2 separate regions of the Homo sapiens genome follow, and region 2 is linked to region 1. Evidence: promoter capture Hi-C in 16 types of primary human blood cells and fetal thymus (Javierre and others, 2016). All regions are on one chromosome and are shown on one strand. The core of a region is centred on a gene start or on the middle of the fragment in contact, and the rest is flanking DNA. Distances in the headings are between cores, read along the strand shown.

The links. The method cuts DNA at HindIII sites, captures the fragments that hold promoters and counts their contacts. A CHiCAGO score of 5 or more calls a contact.
Region 2: the fragment with the promoter of PPP1R8 here is called in contact with the fragment with the promoter of ZDHHC18 in region 1 in 4 of 17 cell types (monocytes, total B cells, naive B cells and 1 more); the score reaches 13.9 in monocytes.

Annotation. Positions count from the first base shown.
Region 1 is chr1:26,824,647-26,828,918 of GRCh38, forward strand. ZDHHC18 (zDHHC palmitoyltransferase 18) reads left to right here and starts at 2,042. Exons shown (of 8, transcript NM_032283.3): 1 at 2,042-2,493. The coding sequence starts at 2,159. RefSeq lists silencers at 1,824-1,976, 1,940-2,089, 2,100-2,309. The HindIII fragment of the contact is 7,154 bases long and covers 1-3,815 here.
Region 2 is chr1:27,828,737-27,833,008 of GRCh38, forward strand. PPP1R8 (protein phosphatase 1 regulatory subunit 8) reads left to right here and starts at 2,046. Exons shown (of 7, transcript NM_014110.5): 1 at 2,046-2,155; 2 at 4,020-4,080. The coding sequence starts at 2,100. LOC124903885 (a long non-coding RNA gene) reads right to left here and starts at 3,047. Exons shown (of 2, transcript XR_007065562.1): 1 at 2,013-3,047; 2 at 1-85. RefSeq lists enhancers at 1,525-2,310, 2,184-2,353, 2,311-3,095 and a silencer at 1,974-2,053. The HindIII fragment of the contact is 9,216 bases long and covers 1-4,244 here.

The sequences.
Region 1 (4,272 bases), core at 792-3,291:
AAAATAAAAAATAAAATAAAATAAGGATATGAGTGGAGGGTTGGCCATGGACAGAAGGAGGCCCACATCTTCTAAAAAAGAAGAAAGGACAGATGCAAATAAAGAGAAATTATGAGATAGAGAGGAGGTAAACTGAAAATCCAGTAGGATTGCTTTGGTTTCTGTAAAGTGACGAGAAAAAAGAAAAGGTTTCAGGTTGCAAGAGGACCCAGTTAAGGTGGGACAACAGGAATCTGTACTGGAACCAGTATGTCTAGTTTTGTGACTTTGTTCCACAGCCAAGGAGCAAAAAGGGAGGAAGCTCACCATGTGGTTTGCTCAAGATGGGGCTCATCATATTGAGAGCCTTTGGCACCAAAGGCACGGCTGAGCAGCCTTTGGCATATATATCAATTATTGATCCTTAAGGTCACTGTTGTCGGCTTCCTACTCCTCCCCATTGTATATTTTTACTTCCTTTTTTACTTTCTCCTAGTCTCCAGTTCTTTTTTTCCTTGCACTTTTCCTTAGGTTTTACAGTAACCACAGTGTGACAGACATACCCTAAGCTGACCCCCAATGATTCCTGCCTCCTGGTATTTACGCCTTGTGTGATTCCCTTTTCTTGAGTGCAGATGGCTCCTGTGCTTTGCTTTTAACCATAGGAGATGGCAATGATGATGGGATGCCACTCTGTCACATATATAGTAAGTTATATAAAACTCTATCATCATAGTCTGGAGCTAGAGACCCTCATTGTCAGTTTCAAGAAACTAAGTGGCTATGTAGGAGAAACCTGCATGGCAAGGAAATGTGATAATCTCTAGGAACTGCAGGTGGCTTTTGGATCCTGAGAGAGGCCTCCAGCAGACACCCAGCAAAAATCCCAGGCCCTCCTCAGTTATACAGTCACCCAGCAAAAATCCCAGGCCCTCTTCAGTTAAACAGTCGCAAGGAAGTTAATTCTGCCAATAACCCAAATGGGCTTGCAAGTGGATTCTTCCCTGGCTGAGTCTCCAGATGAGAATGCAGCCTGATTGCAGCCTTGTGAGACTAAGCAGAGGACCCAGCTAAGCTGTTCTCTGGCTCCTGACCTGGAACCTGTTAGATAACGTTTGTTTTTTGTTTTTTTTGAGACGGAGTCTTGCTCTGTCACCAGGCCGGGTGCAATGGCACAATCTCGGCTCACTGCAACCTCCACCTCCTGGGTTCAAGCAATTCTCCTGCCTCAGCCTCCCGAGTAGCTGGGACTATAGATGCCGTGCCACCATGCCCAGCTAATTTTTTATTTTTAGTAGAGACGGGGTTTCACCATATTGGCCAGGATGGTCTCTCTCGACCTTGTGATCCACCCACCTCGGCCTCCCAAAGTGCTGGGATTACAGGCGTGAGACACCGCGCCCGGCCGATAATGTTTGTTTTAAGCCTTAAATTTGTGGTAACTTGTTACACAGCAGTAGAAAATGAATACTCCCAGAATTCCTGAAAAAACACTGGGGCCCTCAGGCATGACCCCTCTACATTATGTGCTACCTAGGAAAATCTGGGCCTGGGCCCAGGACACAGAACTTGGTGAACGAGGCCAGAGGGTGTGCCACACACCTCCAGTGGGCACTCTGGACTTCAAGGTAGAAGAGGTCCTGGCTTTCAAAGCAAATCGTGTGCCCCACCTCCCCGCGCCTGCCTGCCTCTGCAAATGCCTGTCAGTTCGACCCTCAGAGATGGGCGAAGCCTGGGGAATTACAGACTGCCAGAAGTAGATCACGAAGTCCACCACCTGAATCTCGGCGTTTGGCACCGTGCCTGGTACACAGTGGACGCCCAACAAACGGCTTGCTTGCAGAACAGAAAGAGCCCTCGAGTGCGCGTCTGCTGGCCCCCTCTTTGTGCAGAAGGGAAAAGGGAGACTGGGAGGGCCGGGGACCTGCGGGGCCCCGCCGCGGGTCAGAGCTGGGCCTCCGGCCAAGCGCCATCCCGGGCCCAGGCGGAGGGGGCGCTGCGGCGGGAGGCCGCGGCGGGCGGTGGCGGCGGGCCGGGGGCGGAGCGATGGCGGGGCCGCCCCAGTGAGTGAGCGAGCGAGCGCCGCGCGCGCCGCCGCTGCCACCTCCGCTGCTCGGCCCGGTCCCGGAGTGGCCCGGCCGGCCCGCGGGGCGCGGAGCCGAGGCCCGCGGCTGGCTGCATGAAGGACTGCGAGTACCAGCAGATCAGCCCCGGGGCCGCCCCGCTGCCCGCCTCCCCGGGGGCGCGCCGTCCCGGCCCCGCCGCGTCCCCGACTCCGGGCCCCGGGCCCGCGCCGCCCGCCGCCCCCGCCCCGCCGCGCTGGAGCAGCAGCGGCAGCGGCAGCGGCAGCGGGAGCGGGAGCCTCGGCCGCCGCCCACGGCGCAAGTGGGAGGTGTTCCCGGGTCGCAATCGCTTCTACTGCGGCGGCCGCCTCATGCTGGCCGGCCACGGCGGCGTCTTCGCGCTCACGCTGCTGCTCATCCTCACCACCACCGGCCTCTTCTTCGTCTTTGAGTGAGTTCCGCTGCCTCGGCGCCCCCTCCCAGCCCCCTGCCGCGCACCCCACCTTCCCAATCCCTGCTGGGCACTCCGTGCCTTCCCCTTCGCCTCCCTGGTCCTCATCCTCCCCGCCCCTTTGGGATCCTCCTCGGGCCTCTTGTCTGCCCCCCTGGCCCCTGCGCACCCCCATCCCCGCCAGATGCCCCATCCTCCTTGGTCCATTTGGGTACCCCATCCGCGCTGGTGCCCTCCACCCTCCCAGCCCCTCCATTCTCCCTGACCCCACCCTGGCACCTGTCTGCCTGCCACTGCCAGGAACACCAGCCTCCATGCCCCTCCACGGCCCCCATCCTCGCTGCCCTCTCAGAACCTGCCCCAGGGCTTCTTGAACAGGCCCCTCCTGCTCACCCATCCCTGGACCATCTCTTGCCAACCCCCCAAGTTCTTTCTGACCCTTGTATCCCTTCCTGACCACTTCTAGATCTTGTGTGTCCTTTGGCTGTGCACACCCACCATAAACATCCTAGTCATCCTCGCTGCCCTCTCCGGGTCCCTCCAGGGTCCCCTCCTTTTCTCTAGTCTCAGACACCAACCCCGCTTTTGCTTCCCCTCAGCCACGCACACCCTAGGCCCCAAGGCATCTTTTCTCAAAATCTTTGGGCCTCTCGGGCCCCCTTTCCTTCTCCAGAACCTTCCTTAGGTTCTCCAGAGCTTCCTGTCCTTCCCTCAGATCCCGCCCGCCTCCACCCAGCCGGCTCCCAGGCCCCTGGCCCCCCTGCTGACCACCTGGCTTTCTTTCCCTGCTCAACATTCTGGAACGTCCCTCTGGCCTGTTCCACATCAGCAACAGCTGCGGTGCCTTGTTGTTTTTCAGGAAAGACTTCGGAGTGCTTTCGTGTGACAGGTCATATTTGCCCCCCTAGGTTTTTGTCCTCTTCATATCCCCCGGTGACCCAGGATTGGCCCACACATAATCTCCATTTTATGGATGGAGGGTCATATATTTGTATTAGAAGTTTTCCACCCACCTCTGAGCCACCTGCACTGTGATTCCTTGCACACACACTCACACGCCCACCCACCCACCCTTGCTTCATAAGCCCTGCTGTCCCCTCCCAACTCCCCATCCTTTGTGGTTGTTCCTCTTAATTATACAGTGTAGTTAAGAACTCTAACAGACCTGGTTCAAATCCCAGCTCCACCACCCACTAATTGCGTGACCTCAGGGCAGTCACTTCACCCCCTCAGTGCCCCAGTTTCCTCATCAGTAAAATGGGATTTATAATAGTACCCACCCCGTAAGGTTGTCCTGAGGGTGGCATGAGGTCACACATGCAAGCTTTTAGCCCAGTAACAAGCACACTATGTTGGCTGCTATTAGTACTTGTGTTGTCTTTATCAAAAAACACTTCCCAAGGGCATGTGGCCATGGTAAGGCTATCATAGAGACACCCGCCCCCAGGTACCCTTTCTAGCTGCCAGATCATGTATCTGCAACTTTGGGTTTCCCCTTGAAGCAAGGTGAAGACTTCCTATAAATTAGCTTCTCCCTTTACCCTTTAACCACACACTCTGCCCTTTTTTTTGAGTAGGGTGGATAAAAAGTTCAGGGATGATTTACAAGCAGAAGCTCTGGGGGGCCCAGAGCTCAGCTCTGGGCTGAGTTTCAGATCCACTTCCCTGGGCTGGCCACATGAGTGTTTTGGAAATGCCTTTTCTAGTATCCCCTGGGCTGCCCTCTCAGTCCCCACACCCAGGGCTGCAGCCGAGGCAGGAGGAAGCAGTACTTGCCGT
Region 2 (4,272 bases), core at 796-3,295, 1.0 Mb after region 1:
CAGTGCCTCTTTCTGGATGAACAGGAACTTAGCAATTGATTTATTTAAAAAAGGAAAAACTGGTCAGATAATCCTCCCAACGCGTCTACAAAAGTGAAAAAGAGGGGCATCAGTTGCATGCTAATAATAAATATAATTATACCAACATCAAAGTGTAAGAGAGAATAGTGACTCATGAGCATGGCCTTCGGCATCATATAGGTTTAGGTTTTTGATCCCACTCCACTTGTTCTAGGGTGAAGCTGGGTAACTCAATCTCTCTAAGCCTCTCCTCTGGAATTATAATAATACCTAACTCAAGAGTATTGTCAGGATTAAGTGAGATGATCCATATAAAATACATACTTGCCCAGGTAACTGCTGAACAGACAATGCCATTAAAACCAGAGGCCCTCCCGTCCAGGAGGGAGGTGGGGGGGGGGTCAGCCCCCGCCCGGCCAGCCGCCCCATCCAGGAGGTGAGGGGCGCCTCTGCCCGGCCGCCCCTACTGGGAAGTGAGGAGCCCCTCTGCCCGGCCACCACCCCATCTGGGAGGTGTACCCAACAGCTCATTGAGAACGGGCCATGATGACAATGGCGGTTTTGTGGAATAGAAAAGGGGGAAAGGTGGGGAAAAGATTGAGAAATCGGATGGTTGCTGTGTCTGTGTACAAAGAAGTAGACATGGGAGACTTTTCATTTTGTTCTGTACTAAGAAAAATTCTTCTGCCTTGGGATCCTGTTGATCTATGACCTTACCCCCAACCCTGTGCTCTCTCCACTCAGGGTTAAATGGATAAAGGGCAGTGCAAGATGTGCTTTGTTAAACAGATGCTTGAAGGCAGCATGCTCATTAAGAGTCATCACCACTCCCTAATCTCAAGTACCCAGGGACACAAACACTGCGGAAGGCCACAGGGTCCTCTGCCTAGGAAAACCAGAGACCTTTGTTCACTTGTTTATCTGCTGACCTTCCCTCCACTATTGTCCTATGACCCTGCCAAATCCCCCTCTGCGAGAAACACCCAAGAATGATCAATAAAAAAATAAAAAATAAAAAACCAGAGGCCCTGCTAATGGTCTCTTAAAACCAGCTGGTGATCTAGGGCAAGCGAGCAATCCTTATGCTTCCTTGCCCTATAACCAAAAGCAAAAAATCCTTTTTAAAAAAATTAACCATTTGAGCCAAGCACAGTGATGATTTGGACCCCTGCTTTCTGACTGGACCTGCTCCTGGCTCCTGCTTGTCCAGAGTTTTCATAAACAGACTAGGTGACCCCTAATGCAGATTCCCTGACAATCTACAGGCCTAAACGTGAATTAGAAAAAAGTGAGTAGGGTGCCACTTTTTGGAGAAGGGCTGAAGAGAAACAATAATCACTCCAATCTCCGAGTTTTGCCCTTTAGCTTCTCCGCTTTGAGGGCAAAAGGCTGACGGTCTTAACCTAAACTCTGGAGGAGGATGTAGTCCCCAGATTTTTTCTTTCTTTACTTTTTTTTTTTTTTTTTTTGAGACGGAGTCTCGCTCTGTTGCCCAGGCTGGAGTGCAATGGCGCGATCTCGGCTCACTGCAACCTCTGCCTCCCGAGTGCAAGCGATTCTCCTGCCTTAGCCTCCCAAGTAGCTGGGATTACAGGCATGTGCCACTACACTCGACTAATTTTTGTATTTTTAGTAGAGACGGGGTTTCACCATGTTGGTCAGGCTGGTCTCAAACTCCCGACCTCAAGTGATCCGCCCGCCTCAGCCTCCGAAAGTGCTGGGATTACAGACGTGAGCCATCGCGCACGGCTTAGTCCCAAGATTTTAGAGCCAAGAAGCGTTTGCAGGAGGACGTAGGGAAAGACTGACTCCCCTCCCTACAAAGCCCCTTTTCCTTTGACACCTCCTGGCCAAGGAAAACCCTAACCACTGGAGACTTCCAGAGACGGCCAACTCGCACAAACGCTGAAAAAAAAAAAATCCCAAAAGCTCCTCTGTCCCCACTAGAAGCACCGCCCCCCGTACGGGCGTGCGTGAGCGTGCGTACGCACAGGCTGCTGGGATGCCGCTTTTCCCTTCTCGGTCTTCCAGTTTCCCGGCGTGCTTAGGGCGCGCCAAATGGGAGGGGGAGACGCAAGATGGCGGCAGCCGCGAACTCCGGCTCTAGCCTCCCGCTGTTCGACTGCCCAACCTGGTGAGTGGCGGGGCGGCCAGGGCTAGAGTGGCCCGGCCGGAGCTAGCCTGGGCTGGAAGGGCGGCTCTTTTTTTACTTTTCTGCTGCGAGCCGAACGGCTCAGAAACCCCGGAATGGTTGAGGAAAAACTGTTTGCTGCACCGGGCCGGGCGACGTGTTGAAGAACCGAGAGCCTGGAGCCCAGGCCCAGGAACTGAAGAAACCCGGGGTTGGGGGCTCAAAGGCGCTCACTTAGGCAGCCCCTTTGAGCGATTAGCCAGTCGCCGGAGCGCTTCGAGGCCTTGGCCCGAACTTACGCCCAACTCTTGACTGAGTGCCTGGTGCTCTCGTGGAGCATCGCATCTGGCCCCTTCCTGTACGTCCCGAGCGCGCTCGAGCCAGCCCCGGCCCCAACCCTACCTCCAAGCCCCGCATCCCTCTGTGGTTGCTGCATCCCTCGTGCGGCACTTGTCTGTCTGCCACAGAGAATACGAGGGTAGGTTAGCGCCATCCCTGCCCTCAGGGAGCTCCCAGTCTGTGGCACTAGTAGGCATTAGTAATGGTTGGCATGAACCCTTTTTATCCCTTCGAAAGTTCTTGGGAATAATGAAATAATTTAATTTGGTCTTTGAGTAGGGTACAAGTTGAATAAATATGAATTACCTTACAAGGAAACGCTTCTGAATTAAGAGTTTTTTTCTGCTGTAGCTCATCGCAGTGTATTGTTTGTTGCTTGTCTCTGTCTCCCGTTGTATTGCCATCCTCAAGGGCAAAGACTGCATCTTTGTATTCCCAGCTCCTAGGCCTGAGTCAGGCACATAGTAGGAATTCAGAAAGTATGTTTTGGATGTAACATTCCTCCTTTTTCCTGGACAAAATGGCCTTTTGTCCGGTGCATTGTCCTTTCCATAGAGGAGGGGTTGGGGCAGGATTGTGAGATGACTGTGTTGAATCTTCAGTTAGCTAGACAAGGATACGTTTTTTCATGTGCAAATCTAAAGGTTCTAGTGAGGTGGTTCTTTTTTCTAACTTCAAATTAGCAAACCCAAAAAGCAAGCAAATGTGTGGCTATTTTCTGGATCGCTTTGCACTTTTGTAGTAGTTGCTTCAGTCTACAAATTCTGTATCCATTTTGATCCCTCGCTGTATTGATTTCAAATTTGGGCCGAGATAGCAAACATAGTTAGAAAGCACTGTTTTTGAGATCACCTACCCTTTCCTTAGGATCTGGTAGGTACCAGGCACCGTTAGGTGCTTTGACATATGAGTCTCCCTTGAATGGTATGGCTGTAGGATATAGAGGAAACGTCCCCTAATCATGCTGTTGTAGAAAGACCTGTTTCAAGGGTAACATATTCATTTGGTACCTGGTTTCATGGGGCATGATTTTGAATTGCCCTAGTTCCCTAATTATGCACCTCTGATTTGGTTTCAGAGCTCAGGACAGTACTCTTTGCTTACTCTGTGATGAGACTAATCTTGATGAGCCCCAAACAGCAACTAATTTATTCGGTCTTTATATGATATTGGAGTAGGGGTGGATTTCAGATTCAAACTCCAGGTGACTAGACCACCCCAGCTATCGTACTTGCACTCTCTATGCAGTTCTTTCTCTGAGGTGAAGATCCAGTGTTAAAATATAGGTTTCTTGGTGCTGCTCTAAATACAGATCTACTAAAATCTGTTGCAGAGCAATTGAATCACTAGGGAAGTAAGTGTCAAACGTAGAATGGAGCTGTAATAACAGTGAAGTGGATGACATTTCTGCTTGAACATGAACTAATTATAGGCTGGTAGGAGAGCTGCAATGTTGAATGGGACAATGGTTGTAAATAGCATTTATAAACCCATCCTGAAAATGCTTTTTTCTATTTTTATTTTTCAGGGCAGGTAAGCCCCCTCCCGGTTTACATCTGGATGTAGTCAAAGGAGACAAACTAATTGAGGTATGGAAATACATGTCTTACTTTTTTGGCTGCCACACTAAAGATTTTTGCCAGTGACTCACTTTTCCACCCCCTCTCCTGTGCTTTGTTTTCCAGCAATGCTACTTTCTTTCATCCTGATTTTTTTTTTCTGTTAAAAGCACATGGTGACATCACACATTTAAAGCTTATGTCTACCACAGACACTCAATT